Linked DNA regions of Homo sapiens: region 2 is linked to region 1. The links are contacts of gene promoters, found by promoter capture Hi-C in blood cells and fetal thymus (Javierre and others, 2016). All regions are on one chromosome and are shown on one strand. The core of a region is centred on a gene start or on the middle of the fragment in contact, and the rest is flanking DNA. Distances in the headings are between cores, read along the strand shown.

Evidence for each region. The method cuts DNA at HindIII sites, captures the fragments that hold promoters and counts their contacts. A CHiCAGO score of 5 or more calls a contact.
Region 2: a contact is called between a fragment that was not itself captured here and the fragment with the promoter of FAM167B in region 1, in 2 of 17 cell types (total CD8 T cells and naive CD8 T cells). The highest score is 5.7, in total CD8 T cells.

The regions. Positions count from the first base shown.
Region 1 is chr1:32,243,683-32,251,247 of GRCh38, forward strand. It overlaps FAM167B (family with sequence similarity 167 member B), which reads left to right and starts at 3,540. Exons shown (of 2, transcript NM_032648.3): 1 at 3,540-4,000; 2 at 4,689-5,174. The coding sequence starts at 3,740. The coding sequence ends at 4,919. RefSeq lists enhancers at 4,798-4,957, 6,186-6,395, 6,586-6,795, 6,846-6,935. The HindIII fragment of the contact is 5,457 bases long and covers 2,026-7,482 here.
Region 2 is chr1:32,406,069-32,413,633 of GRCh38, forward strand. No RefSeq gene overlaps it. Among named protein-coding and RNA genes, the nearest start is that of BSDC1, 15 kb to the left of the region's middle. RefSeq lists an enhancer at 58-137. The HindIII fragment of the contact is 8,294 bases long and covers 848-7,565 here.

The DNA.
Region 1 (7,565 bases), core at 2,290-4,789:
TCACGCCACTGCACTCTAGCTTGGGCAATAGAGTGAGACTTGTATCAAAAAAAAAAAAAAAAAGAAAAGAAAAAAGAAAGAAAAAGAATAGAGGAATAGGGAGAGGAGTGGTGGCTCATGGCCATAATCCTAGCACTTTGGGAGACCGAGGCAGGAGGATCACTTGAGCCCAGGAGTTTGAGACCAGCCTGGGCAACATGGTGAAACCCCAACTCTACCAAAAACACAAAAAATTAGCCAGGTGTGGCATGGGCCTGTGGTCCCAGCTACTTGGGAGGCTGAGGTGGGAGGATCACTTGAGCCTGGGAGGTGGGGGTTGCAGTGAGCTGAGATTGCACCACTGCACTCCAGCTTGGGTGACAGAGTGAGACCCCGTCTCATTAAAAAAAAAAAAAAAAAAAAAAGAGGCCGGGCACGGTGGCTCACACCTGTAATCCCAGCACTTTGGGAGGCCAAGAAGAGCGGATCACGAGGTCAAGAGATCAAGACCATCCTGGCTGACACGGTGAAACCCTGTCTCTACTAAAAATACAAAAAAATTAGCGGGGCATGGTGGCAGGCACCTGTAGTCCCAGCTACTTGGGAGGCTGAGGCAGGAGAATGGCATGAACCCAGGAGGTGGAGCTTGCAGTAAGCCTAGATTGCACCACTGCACTCCAGCCTGGGCGACAAAGTGAGACTCCGTCTCAAAAAAATAAAAAAGAAAAGAATAGGCTGGGCGCAGTGGCTCACGCCTGTAATCCCAGCACTTTGGGAGGCTGAGGTGGGTGGATCACTTGAGGTCAGGAGTTCGAAACCAGCCTGGCCAACATGGCGAAACCCCGTCTCTACTAAAATATACAAAAATTAGTGGTGGCAGGCAACTTAATCCCAGCTACTTGGGAGGCAGAGGCAGGAGAATCTTTTGAACCCGGGAGGCGGAGGTTGCAATGAGCCGAGATTGAGCCATTGCACTCAAACCTGGGGGATGAGTGAGACTTCTCTCAAAAAAAAAAAAAAAAAAAAAAGAGAAGAAAAGAAAAAAAGAATAAAGGAATAAAACAATGGTACTTCATAGATACAGAAGCCTTTTTTTAATTTTTTATTTTGAGACAGGTCGGCCTCTGTCACCCAGGCCTGGAGTGTAGTGATGTGATCAGGGCTCACTGCAGCAGCTTTGCCCTTCTGGGCTCAAGCAATCCTTCCATCTCAGTCTCCCAGGTAGTTGGGCACAGGCATGTGCCACCATGCCCTAATTTTTTTTTCTTTCTCATCCTCTTTCAATCCTGTTATTTATTTATTTATTTTTTTGAGACGGAGTCTCGATCTCCTGACCTCGTGATCCGCCCGCCTCGGCCTCCCAAAGTGCTGGGATTACAGGCGTGAGCCACCGCGCCCGGCGAGACGGAGTCTCACTCTGTTGCCCAGGCTGGAGTGCAGTGGCGCAATCTCGGCTCACTGCAAGCTCCGCCTCCCGGGTTCACGCCATTCTCCTGCCTCAGCCTCCCAAGTAGCTGGGACTACAGGTGCCTGCCACCATGCCCAGCTAATTTTTTTGTATTTTTTTAGTAGAGATGGGGTTTCACCATGTTAGCCAGGATGGTCTCGATCTCCTGACCTCGTGATCCACCCACCTTGGCCTCCCAAAGTGCTGGGATTACAGGCGTGAACCACCGCGCCTGGCTGAGTTCAAAACCATTATGAGCAACAGAGGAAGACCTCATCTCTATCAAAAACTTAAAAAAAAAAAAAATTAGCTGGGTGTGGGGTCTTGGCCCTGTAAGTCCCAGCTACTGAGGAGGTCAAGCAAGAGAATCACCTGAGTCCAAGAGTTCAAGGTTGCAGTGAGCTGTAATCCCACCACTGCACTCCAGCCTGGCAACAAAGCAAGACCCTGTCTCGAAAAAAAAAAAAAGCATAAATTGTAAAATTCCAGACCAGCAGCAGCAGCTGGGATGGGAATTTGGTAGAAATGCAGATTACCAGGCCCCACCCCATACATACTGAATCTGAAACTCTGGGTGGTGGGGCCTAGCCATCTTAGCAAGCTTTCTAGGTGATTCTGATGCATGCTAAAGTTTGTGAACCACTAGAAGGCATATAAACAGAGAAAACTATGCTGTTAGAATGAGGGTGGTGTTACCCTTAGATTAGTGACAGGCCAGGAGCACATGGGAGGCTAACAGCGGTTCCTGGGTGCTGGTAATACTCTGTTGCTTGATCTGGGTGCTGGTTACATGGATGTGTTCAGTTTGGGAGAATTCATCGAGCCATACATTCATTTATTTACTTATTTACTTATTTTTTGAGATGGAGTTTCGCTCTTTTTGCCCAGGCTAGAGTGCAGTGGTGTGATCTTGGCTCACTGCAACCTCCGCCTCCAGGCTCCAGTGATTCTCCTGCCTCATCCTCCTGGGTAGCTGGGATTACAGGCATGCACCACCACGCCCAGCTCATTTTGTATTTTTAGTAGAGATAGGGTTTCACCATGTTGGCCAGGCTGGTCTTAAACTCCTGACCTCAGGTGATCTGCCCGCCTCAGCCTCCCAAAATGTTGGGATTACAGGCGTGAGCCACCGTGTCTCCATGCATTTATGATATGTACAGTTTTTCTGTGTGTATGTTACACTTCTTTCCCCTTCCTTCCTTCCTTCCTTCCTTCCTCCCTCCCTCCCTTCTCTCTCTCTCTCTCTCTCTTTCCTTCTTTCTTTCTTTTGACAGAGTCTTGCTTTGTCACCCAGGCTGGAATGCAATGGCTCGATCTCGGCTCACTGCAACCTCTGCCTCCCGGGTTCAAGCGATTCTCTTGCCTCAGCCTCCCAAGTAGCTGGGACTACAGATGCATGCTACCACACTCGGCTAATTTTTTGTATTTTTAGTAGAGACGGGGTTTCACCGTGTTAGCCAGGATGGTCTTAAACTCCTGACTTCGTGATCCGCCCACCTCGGCTTCCCAAAGTGCAGGGATTACAGGCGTGAGCCACTGCACCTGTCCTTCTGTGTGTATGTTATGTTTGAAAACAAAGTTTAAAAAAGGGAACTGCTCTGGTTGAAGCCCTGGGAGGGGCAGGGAGATGGAAGGCAAGGAGCCCATCCACAGCTCTGTCCTTCTCCTGCAGGCAGCCCTTGAGGGCTCCTTAGAGTATTAGCTTGAAATCCTTCATCTGTCCCAACAGAGCTCTGAGAAGGTCAGTGACTTGCCCAAGGTTCTGCAGAGCCAGCACTAGAACTCAGGTCTCCTGACTCCCAGGCCAGGGCCCTGGAGGCTAGTCCTTTCCTGAAGGGCTGGTGTCACGAGTAAGGACAAGGGGTGGCTAGGCAGCCTCCTTCCTGATCTCAGCTCCCTTAACATGAGTCTTGGGAGGAGGGCCAAGACTCTGGTATGAATGATGCTTTTCTCATCCTGGAGCAACTTCCTTTCTGGGAATTGGGTGTCTCCTTCTGGGCAAAGACAATAAAATTCATCCAAAGGGCCAGAGGAGCAGGGTTCCTCCGGCCCCCACCCAGATGGGCATCACGTGGCTCCCAAGTTAGCAGTCCAGGAAAATTCCAGCCCTTGCATACTTGGCCTCACACACCCATCTGCTCACTCACCCTGGCACATTCAGCCCCCCTAACCCACCTTGAACATTGACCACCACACACTCCCTGGCACGCTCTTCTCACCCTCAACTTCTGCCACCTCTCCCTGGGCAATACTGCCAGCCTTTCCCTAATCTCAGAGCTGCAGCCCTGCCCTGTCACTCACCTCAAACCTGCCATGTCCCTGGGGCTACTGAAATTCCAGGCAGTGGGTGAAGAGGACGAGGAGGATGAGGAGGGGGAGAGCCTGGACTCTGTGAAGGCACTGACAGCCAAGCTGCAGCTGCAGACTCGGCGGCCCTCATATCTGGAGTGGACAGCCCAGGTCCAGAGCCAGGCCTGGCGCAGGGCCCAAGCCAAACCTGGACCAGGGGGACCTGGGGACATCTGTGGTTTCGACTCAATGGACTCCGCCCTTGAGTGGCTCCGACGGGAGCTGGTGAGTCTGGTGGGGTGGGCAGCTTTGCCCAGGGCCTTCAGGCTGGTCCTCCTTAGGGTCCAAGACCACAGGCATGGGGAAGGGATGAGAATGGACCCTGCCTCCAGCAACCGCCCGCTCCGGTGTCCTGGGCTGAGGAGCCGGGAATGGACTTGTCCAGTGTTGTATTCAGGGAGGCTTGCTGAAGAAGGATTCCATCCAATCTACTGACCTTGTGCTCCTGTTGCTTAGGGGACAGAGCACTGGTGTTGGGGGGTGTGGGGCACCATTATAAATAGGGAAATACACAGCCTCCCCTACTCTGGGACTTTCTATGGCCTAAAGATACAGCGAAGTGCAAAAGGAGGCACTGGCCATGCTGCAGGCAGATTCTGAAGAGGTGAAGTTTCAGTAGGTGGCTCCCAACTCAACATGTGCAAATATAAAGATACCCAGGCTCCAACACAGAGATTCTGCTTAGTTGATTTGGGATGGGGCCCAGGCAGTTGGATTTGCTTAATAATGACTCCTTAGCTGGGTTTGAGAACCACCAGGTGAAGCCAGATTGGGAGATAGGGAGAGATCAAGCTGAGGTGAGAGGGGGCTGGGGAGGACACAGTCAGTGCAAAGGCCCAGCGTTGCCAGGAAGGGAGAAACGGCGCGCGGCCGAGGGCCTGTCCAGTAGGCTCACGCCCCCTCTCGGCCGCAGCGGGAGATGCAGGCGCAGGACAGGCAGCTGGCAGGGCAGCTGCTGCGGCTGCGGGCCCAGCTGCACCGACTGAAGATGGACCAAGCCTGTCACCTGCACCAGGAGCTGCTGGATGAGGCCGAGCTGGAGCTGGAGCTGGAGCCCGGGGCCGGCCTAGCCCTGGCCCCGCTGCTGCGGCACCTGGGCCTCACGCGCATGAACATCAGCGCCCGGCGCTTCACCCTCTGCTGAGGAACACCTGTGCCCCCCGACTCCCCGCCCCCTCTCCCAATGCCGCTTCCCCTGCCTGCCTGGGAAGAGGAAAGGGAGGGGTGCCCCAGAGGCACCAGCTCCTGGCGGGGGAGGAGGAACATTCAGGTTTCTGAGAGCTGAATTCCAAGAGTGCAAAACCCCAGCATCCTGTTTCCTCTGCTGACCCAGCTGGGAGGGGGAGGAGGAGGAGCTCACACCCTCAAACTCCTCAATAAACGCTTTCTCTGGTTCCCATCAAGGTCTCTTGCAGTCGTTTATTCAGGCCCAAGGCCGCTATCTGAATGTCGCCTGTCACTGGGACCACCCTAGTTCACTGCAGGCCCATGGGAGGTGACTTAGGTAAATTGGGCTCCTGAAGAATGCAGAATCTGAGAGACATGGGTTCAAAGCCAGCTACCCCGTTTATTTCTTTTTGTTGTTGTTATTTCTTCTGCTTCTTTTTTTTTTTTTTTTTTTGAGGCAGAGTCTCACTCTGTCACCCAGGCTGGAATGCAGTAGCACAATCTCAGCTCACTGCAACCTCCGCCTCCGGGGATCAAGCGATTCTCCTGCCTCAGCCTCCCAAGTAGCTGGGATTACAGGCGGCCACCACCTCGCCTGGCTAATTTCCTTTCTTTTCTTTTCTTTTTTTTTCTTTTTTTTGAGATGGAATTTCACTCTTTCGCCCAGGCTGGAGTAGTGGCGCGATCTTGGCTCACTGCAACCTCCACCTTCTGATTTCAAGCGATTCTCCTGCCTCAGCCTCCCAAGTAGCTGGGATTACAGGTGGCCACCACCTCGCCTAGCTAATTTCCTTTCTTTTCTTTTCTTTTTTTTTTCTTTTTTTTGAGATGGAATTTCACTCTTTCGCCCAGGCTGGAGTAGTGGCGCGATCTTGGCTCACTGCAACCTCCACCTTCCGATTTCAAGCGATTCTCCTGCCTCAGCCTCCCGAGTAGCTGGGATTATAGGCACCCGCCACCATGCCCGGCTAATTTTTGTATTTTTAATAGAGACAGGGTTTCAGCATGTTGGCCAGGCTGGTCTCAAACTCCTGACCTCAAGTGATCCACCTGCCTGGGGTTTCCAAAGTGCTAGGATTACAGGCCTGAGCCACCGTTTATTTCTATTCGACCCTGAGGAGCTCCCTTAACCCCTGAGTCTGTTTCCTCACCTCCACAATGGAGATGCTGATTCTCACTCCACAGGCAGCAGATGTGCCTTACGGGAGATAGTGCACAGTGAGCGCTCAGTGAATATGAACTATTACTCACTCCCAGCGCGGCAGTCTTTCTACTCTGTGCTGAGACAGGGAGATGGACCGTGAAGTGTTCAGGCTTACATTGCAAGGGAGTCTGGGCCCTGCACCAGGCTTGGAGCTCCAACTCTAGGCTCTGTGTCACTGTGAAGGTTTTTCACTTTGTCTCTCTCAGCCTTTGTTTCTGTGTTACCCTCTTTGTCTGACTTTCCAACTCAGGCTTCCTCTTCCCCCCACCTATTTCCTGCCCCCACTTCTCTCTGCAGCTGAGGTGCACACAGCATCGCTTCCACCTCACAAGCCCCAACAATGCTCTGTGGGTTCCCCTCCCCCTACCAGCTCACTCAGGCAGTGACGCATGTGCACTTTCCTCCTGGTGGGGTCAAGGCCGAGTTCTTGGACCTGATGAGGCCACCTGGAGTTCCTCATATCACTGGTGACCTGGCCCTCAGCTAATGATGGGTGCCCCCTCAGCCTGGCCCCAGGGGAAATGGAAATTCTTTGCCTGCCTGCTGCTCGTGACAATCTTCTTGCCTCCTGCTTATAACAGAAAGTCCTGACAGTCTGTGGCCTGCACCTGGGGGCCTGAGCGGCCCTGTTTGCTCTGTCTTCCACCTGTTGCAGGAGATAGTGCCAAGCCCTCCACCTCTGCCAGGGGCTGTGGCCTTGCCTCTACCTGAATTCGAACTGTTGCCCTACTCTCCAACCATGATTAATGGGTGTTGTCCTGGCCTCTGACTACAGCAGGGGCCGTTACTATGCCCTCTTGAAGACATGAGGTTGTCCTGTCTGCCTCCTGAAACAGGCTGTTTTCCAGCATTCTGTCTGTAAGAGGGATGGTAGCCTGCCATTCACCTACCCTTGACTATAATAAAGCTACTGTTCCATGCCCTGAGATGACATGGGAATTGTTCTCTCGGCCTGACCTGACTGTAACATGCATGGTCTGCTCACCAGCTATTTAACAGGGATATTGTCCTCTCCTCTGACTCTGAACGATGCTACCTTTGCTGCCAGACAGAAACAAAAGGGTCTCTCAGCTGCAACGGTGGTGCTGAGGTGCTGTTTGCCTCTCACCATAAGCTGAGTGTGTGTCCGCTTGCCCCCTGCTCACTGGGCCCAAAGGCTGCCCTTGAATCTCTTGCCCAGATGCACCCTGGAGGGCAGAAGGGAGGGTCTATCAGACATCCTCCCCTCAACTTTAAACCTCCCAGTGTCACCCTGGGACAGTAGGGGAAGATGGACCTGGTCTGGAGATGTAGGGGACCCCCAGGGGCTGAGAGGCAGGGGTCTATGGTGGCAGGAAGCTTGGCGTGCTAGAGGGTTGTGGTTGGGCTGCTGGGGCCCGGTTGGCTGCGGAGCCCTCCGGAGGAGGCAGGAAGTCAGGG
Region 2 (7,565 bases), core at 3,745-6,244, 160 kb after region 1:
CCTGTGGTGCTAGCTGAGGCAGGAGAATCAGTTGAGCCCGGGAAGTGAAGGTTGCAGTGAGCCAAGATTGCACCACTGCACTCTACCCTGGGTGACAGAGGGAGACCCTGTCTCCAAAAAAAAAAAAAAGTCTAAGTGTGAAAGAAACCACTCCTACACACAGCTCTTGGTTTCTGAACTATGTATCTGGCTAAGGAAGAAATGGTACACTGGTTCAGAGCATATACTGCATCCTTTTAACAGTGCTGTATCTCACAGGGTGCTATCTAACAGCTGGTAGATTACCTGGACCTTCAGTAGGTTTTGCCACCACTCTAGAAGGCTGGCTGATGGAGCTCAGGTTAGTGAATCCTCTGGTGTCTGCTCACTCTCACTTCTTTTCTTGTGAAGTGAATTTCATGGTCAGAAACAATATTGTGTGGGACACTAAGACTGTGTATTAAGTCCATAGATGGAGGTTCTGAGAGAAGAATGAGAAGCAGGGAAAGGAAATTCAAACCCAGAGTAAGCACTGTCACCGGTGAGACAAATTGTTCCTTCTTCACAAGGGACATGGTCCTATGTAATTGATCTGCCACCAGATAGTTGGTTTGTTCCCTCAAGGTATGACATCACATCAAGAGTCCAGGACTGTTTGCTCCTGTAGGCAAACAGGGCATCAGTAGGTCAGTAGTGGTGGTTGCCAGGACGGCCTTGGACAGGGATGTCCCTGTTCTTGGGCCTATGCATAATTTCCACTCCTGTCACTATCGTCCTTTGTCCATGAACCCATTGAACAAGAACTGGACTGGCTGGTGGAAAAGGCCATCTAGTTAATATCCACAGAACAGATCTGCTGATTAGTGAAAGCTTCCTGCACAGCGGGGGCCCATGGTGAGCAATCATTTGGCACACCTGCTGTCTCATGATCTGTGACCATTCCAGGAAATCCACCTTTCCCAAACCTCTTTGTCATTAACTTGCAATCTTTTAAGATGCTGAGCTACTCACACTATTTGTCATTGGCTCGTGAACTGGTATAGATCCTGACCTCAGGCCATTTTTCCTACCAGGCAAAGTGGACAATGAAATGCACTGCTTACAGTTCTGCCTATTGAGGAATTTCCTTCTCCAGCATCCTTTGGGGCCATATAACCATTTTCATAAAACTGTTTCTTGCTCTTTCAGAATCTGCCATCTGAAAACCAGGCTCTCATATAATTTTTTCTTTACAGTGGAGCCTTGTCACAATCATTTACATAGTCATGAATATTCTAATGGCTGGGTCTATTTCAGCGGGTCTATCCTTGTTTCTCTCTCCCAAACTTTTTTTGTTGTTGTTGAGACAGGATCTCACTCTGTTGCCCAGGCTGGAGTGCAGAGGTGTCATCTCTGCTCACTGCAACCTCCACCTCCCAGGTTCAAGTGATTTTTGTGCTCCCACATCCTGAGTAGCTGGAATTACAGGCGTGACCACCAAGCCTGGCTAATTTTTGTGTTTTTTGGTAGACACAAAGGTTTCGCCATGTTGGCCAGGCTGGTCTAGAATTCCTGACCTCAAGTGATCTGCCTGCCTCGGCCTCCCAAAATGCTGGGATTACAGGCATGAGCCACCGTGCCCATCCTCTCCTAAACTTTTTATTCTCTCATCTTGCTTCCTTCAGTAACCATGGCCTGTGATTCAATGTTGATTCTGATTTCAAGACATCTCTGCCTCGAGACAGTGGAAAACCACATGCCTTGCTCCAACTGCCACCAAGAAGAGTTCCTTTCTCTGCTATCCTTCAGAGTGACCTTGCTCAGGCCATGACAGTCCATTTCTGGCTCATACCAGCACATTGTACAGAGCCATGCATAACAGTTCACACTCGTTTCCTCCCATGTCGCCTGGGTTGGAGTCTCTGGAGCAGTGTGCAGGAATGGGTACTGGGAGTAAGAACAGCCTGCTCATTGCACCTTCAGGGCTGTTTAGGCCACATTCTCTATGGGCCACTTTCACTTGAGAATTACTGAGTATTGGCGATCAGAAAACACCCAATTCATGATGGGCAGCTCAGGTTGCAACGTCACCTAGTGCTCTATGGTCAAGCATTCAGCCTACTAGAACTATTAGGAAAATCCTAGTAGCTACTACTAGGGCAAGGATGTCATCGAAGAGTACTTCAAATGCGATAATGAACAAATAAAACTTTGGTTCATGTTCTTTAAAAAAAAAAAAGTAGCTACTAGCTACGAGTAGCTACTACTACTAAAACTCAGGAGCTATTTCTCAAAAGAAAAATACTCAGTATGAATGAGGAACGGCTAACAGCTTTGCCTCCAAACTTTGAGGGCCTCTATGGTGATCCCTCTACCAATGTTTGCAATAGGCTCAGTATGGCATCATTTCCCTCAGACGCTTTTTTTTTTTTTTTGAGGCAGAGTTTCACTCTTAGTTGCCCAGGCTGGAGTGCAATGGCACGATCTCGGCTCACTGCACCTTCCGCCTCCCAGGTTCAAGCAATTCTCCTGCCTCAGCCCCCTGAGTAGCTGGGATTACAGGCACCCGCCACCATGCCCAGCTAATTTTGTATTTTTAATAGAGATGGGGTTTCTCCATCTTGGTCAGGCTGGTCTTGAATTCCTGACCTCAGGTGATCCATCTGCCTCGGCCTCCTAAAGTGCTGGGATTACAGGTGTAAGCCACCGCACCTGGCCTTCCCTCAGACACTTTGACTGTGGATCTGTTCAGCTGTCAGGGCCAAATTGCTGAGCCTGGACCAGTTGGAGAGGCATCCTCTCTAACTCTGTGCCTTACTCAAACCTGGAGACTGGCAAATAGTTAGAAGGAGTTGGCTGGGTGCGGTGGCTCATGCCTATAATTCCAGCACTTTGGGAAGCCACGGCGGGCTGATTGCTTGAGGCCAAGAGTTCAAGACCAGCCTGGCCAACATGGCAAAACCATGTCTTTGCTAAAAATAAAAGTAAAAAAATTATTAAAAAAAAAAAAAGAAGTAGTGTACCTAGTAATGTTTGTATGTTGCCCGCAAAATCCAAAGAGACCTATCAAGCACTGGGGTTCCTTCTTAGAGGAAGGAAGACTAAAGTGCAGCAACCTGTCCTTTGCTCTGGAGGGAATGTCCTGGTGTGTCTCAGACTGTGTGACTTCCAAAATTTTAATGAAATGGCAGGCTGCTATATTTTTGTTGGATTTATCTCCCACCCTTTTATACCCAATGTTTTCTACTTTTGGGGTTCTGTCAGCACGATGCCACCAAAATAGTGGAACAGCATGACAGCCTGTAGGATGGAATGACAAATACTTGGACTGACTCTTGACCTCTATGCCACCCTCCTTCTATTGGATGCATTGTAAAGTGAAATACCACATTTCCCAGAGTCCCTTGCAGCTAAGGTTCTGCTTGTGAACTAGGTTCCTTCAAGTAGGCACATCCATGTGAGATTTGGGAAAGCAGACATGAGGCAGAAGTCACCTTTCTGCAGAAGTGGCTGCTGGCAGGAAACGCCTGTTTTGAATACATTGAGTTGTTTGTTTTCTGCACTGAACTGACTGATACAGATGATGGCAGAGCCAAAATTTCTACAGACCAAATTGGGGCACAGAGCAGAAGTGTTGGATTTTCTTTGAGTAAAGATTATAAAGCAAATTGCTTTTTTTTTTTTTTTTTTGAGAGGGAGTCTCACTCTGTCACCCAAGCTGGAGTGGAGTGGCACACATGATCTTGGCTCACTGAAACTTCTGCCAGCCTCAGCCTCCCAAAGTGCTAGGATTACAGGTGTGAGCCACCATGCCTGGCCATAAAGCAAATTGCTGCTGCTTCTTTTTTTTTTTTTTTTTTCCATTGAGATGGAGTTTCGGTCTGTCATTCAGGCTGGAGTGCAATGGCGCGATCTTGGCTCACTGCAACCTCCACCTCCAGGGTTCAAGCAATTCCCCTGCCTCAGCCTCCCAAGTAGATGGGATTACAGGCACCCGCCACCATGCCTGGCTAATTTTTTGTATTTTTAGTAGAAACAAGGTTTCACCATGTTGGCCAGGCTGGTCTCGAACTACTGGCCTCAAATGATCCACCTGCCTTAGCCTCCCAAAGTGCTGGGATTACAAGCATGAGGCACCATGCCTGGCCACAAATTGCTTCTTATATCCTCTGTTATATTGGAGAAAAATGCATTTGCTTGATCAAATTCTGGGAGTCGTACTGATGTACTCCCCCAAAAGCCACATCTGAAATAGCAGTGGCAACTGAGGCTGCCATTTGATTCAGTTTTCAATATTCCTCCACCTTCTTGAAGACCATCTGTCTCTTTATCTAAACTGAAGACATGGATATGGATGTGACAGAAGTCACCGCCTCTGCATATCTGAGGTCTTTGATGGTGGCATTAAACTTTGCAATGCTTTCAGGATTTTTTATTTTATTTTTATTTAAAAAATTCTTTTAGTTGCTCTCAGCATACCAGAATTTTTTATTTTAATTTACATTTTGGTGGGAATGAAAAACTTTGATGAGTTCTACTTTGTTTTTCTTTTTTGAGATAGAGTCTCACTCTGTCACCCAGGCTGGAGTGCAGTGGCATGATCTCAGCTTACTGCAACCTCTGCCTCCCAGGTTCAAGCAATTCCCCTGCTTCGGCCTCCTGAGTAGCTGGGATTACAGGCGTGCACCACCATGCCCAGCTAATTTTTGTATTTTTAGTAGAGACAGGGTTTTACCATGCTGCCCATGCTGGTTTCAAATTCCTGGCCTCAAGCGATCTGCCAGCCTCAGCCTCTTAAAGTGTTGAGAGTTTACAGGCATGAGCCACTACATCCAGCTTGTTTTATTTATTTATTTAGAGGCAGAGTTTCACTCTCTCACTCAGGCTGAAGTACAGTGGTGTGATCTCAGCTCACTGCAATCTCTGCCCCTGGGTTCAAGCAATTCTCCTGCCTCAGCCTCCCGAGTAGCTTGGATTACGGGCACCTGCCACTTGGCTAATATTTGTATTTTTAGTAGAGATGGGGTTGCCCCATGTTGGCCAGGCTGGTCTCGAACTCCTGACCCCAGGTGATCTGCCTGCTTCAGCCTCCCAAAGTGCTAAGATTACAGGCATGAGCCACCACGCCCAGCCTGTTCTTCTTATAATAAAAGCTATTAACCTATTCTTATAATAAACCTATTCTATTTAACCTATGTTAAGTTATATAATAACCTATTCTTATAATAAAAGCTATTAACCTATGGTCAGTAGGCTAATGCAGGTTTCTGCCAGTATTTTAGGAAATTCCTTACAGTTATACAAACAAGGACAAAACTATCAGTTTTGGGGACTAGATCCACCCTAAAGTGGACTTTGGTCAAAACTCCATTTGTCACCTAAATCCCCATGCCTCCTGTTGTCTCTTGGTACTTAGCCTCTCAGTTGACCATCTGCCATCTGCCCTGTACTGCCAGAGCTAGACACCAGCCAACAACACTTCCCAGACTCCACTGCTAGCTGGGTCCCAGTTACATTGTGCCAATGGGAGGTGCTTGGTTATATTTGAAGGTGAGAAGAAGGGAGAAATTCTTAGGCTTTAGGAGGTGACTTACCTTTAGCAGTGGTGGCTCTTCCAGCACTGTCAGTAGTGAAAGTGGGGTTGTTGGCTTCACCCCCAGGGTGGTTTCCTGGGCTCTGGAAAATGTCACATTTTACTCTTAGCTCCTTTGGCATTTCCAACATCTTTGTAAGCAAGTCCCTGCATTATATACATTTCTGCTTGAAATATGTTGAATGTTCTCTGTTTTTCTTATCAACACTTAATCATACATTTCCATAAGCCCATACTCTGACTGCTGAAGCCCAGAGGCATTGTGGGTCTCCAGGAATCTGTGGTTAGTTGTCTGATTGTCCCCAAGAGGTTTGTGTATTTATCCGTTGGGAAAGAACAGGAAAAAATGTTCATAGTATGAACTTGTGTTGCTGTTGCTGGATCTTTCCTTAAGCATCCTATACTCTTCCTTTAATCAATGGTCTGTGCACCTGTGAATTGATTCATGTATGGGAATTGCGTGAAAGATGAAAACTGTCTATTGTGTCAAAATAGACCTCTGTTTACTGGACAAGGAGGTATTTTTGTTGTTTGTCTTGATATAAAAACTAAGTGGGAGGCCATGTGTGGTGGCTCATGCCTGTAATCCTAGCACTTTGGGAAGCCAAGGCAGGTGGATCGCTTGAGGTCAGGAGTTCAAGACCAGCCTGGCCAACAAGGTGAAACCCCATCTCTACCAAAAATACAAAAAATTAGCCAGGTGTGTTGGCACATGACTGTAATGCCAGTTACTCGGGAGGCTGAGGCAGGAGAATCGCCTGATCCCAGGAGATGGAGGTTGCAGTGAGCCAAGATTGCACCACTGCACTCAAGCCTGGGTGACAGAGCAAGACTCTGACTCAAAAAACAAAAGAAAACATTAAGTGGGAGTTGGGCACGGTGGCTCATGCCTGTAATCTCAGCACTTTGGGAGGCTGAGGTGAGTGGATTGCTTGAGCCCAGGAGCTCGAGACCAGCTTGGGCAACACAGTGAAATCCCATCTCTACAAAAAGTACAAAAATTTGCCAGGGATGATGGTGCGTGCCTGTAGTCCCAACTACTTGGGAGGCTGATATGGGAGGATCACTTGAGCTCGGGAGGTTGAGGCTGTAATGAGTGAGCCATGATTGCACCACTGCATTCCCGCCTAGGTGACAGAGTGAGACCCTGTCTCAAAAAAAATAAAAAAGTGGGAACTTGGTAGGCCGTTCATAAGCAGTTGTTTCCAAAGATTTCTGTAGGTCTCACCACTCTGTTTTCATGTCAACCCTGTTGCTTACTGGTAACCCTTCCTCCTTTGTATTTGATGGGTAACTGTTGATACAGGAGTTAAGAAGAAATTACTTAGGCAGATAGTAAGGGGATGGGAGTCCTTGGTAAGTCTTCTCTTTTTAATGAAAAGCAGCCCCAAATCATTTTCTAACAAAGAGCAGCCTGAAAGCTGGGCGCTTGCACAGGTGAATGCAGGCAGGAACTAAGGACTAGACATGTTCAAGATGATGGCTCCATCCTCCCTTTTCTGCCAGCCATGGGTACTGTAAAGGAGTGGATAAGATAGTGCTGATCAACTGGAAAGTCCATTTGCATAAGAAGATTAAGGTGAGGTGACCAGTCTTCCCTGTGCCCTATGTAAACCCATACCTGATCGAACCAATCTGTGAGCCCTACATAAATCAGACACCACGACCTCAAACTGTATATAAAACTCAGCTTATTTGCCACCAGCCAGTCCTTTTCCACTTGGTCATTTTCTGCTAGGTTCCTTCTGCTTGGAGACCCCTTCCTCTGTGCAGGAAGCTGTTTCTCTCTCTTTTCTTCTACCTATTAAACTTCTGCTCCTAAACTCCTTGTGTTTGTCTGTGTCCTAAATTTTTTGGCCCACAACAAAGAACCCAAGGGTATATACCCCAGAAAACGAAGCTGCTTCATAATGGGGGCCTGTCTGGGATACCAAAGTACAACATTCATCGAAACAGTGAGTAAAGGAGTGGACTCCAACTCTGTCTTTTCATTCTGAGGCTCTCAGTCTCCATT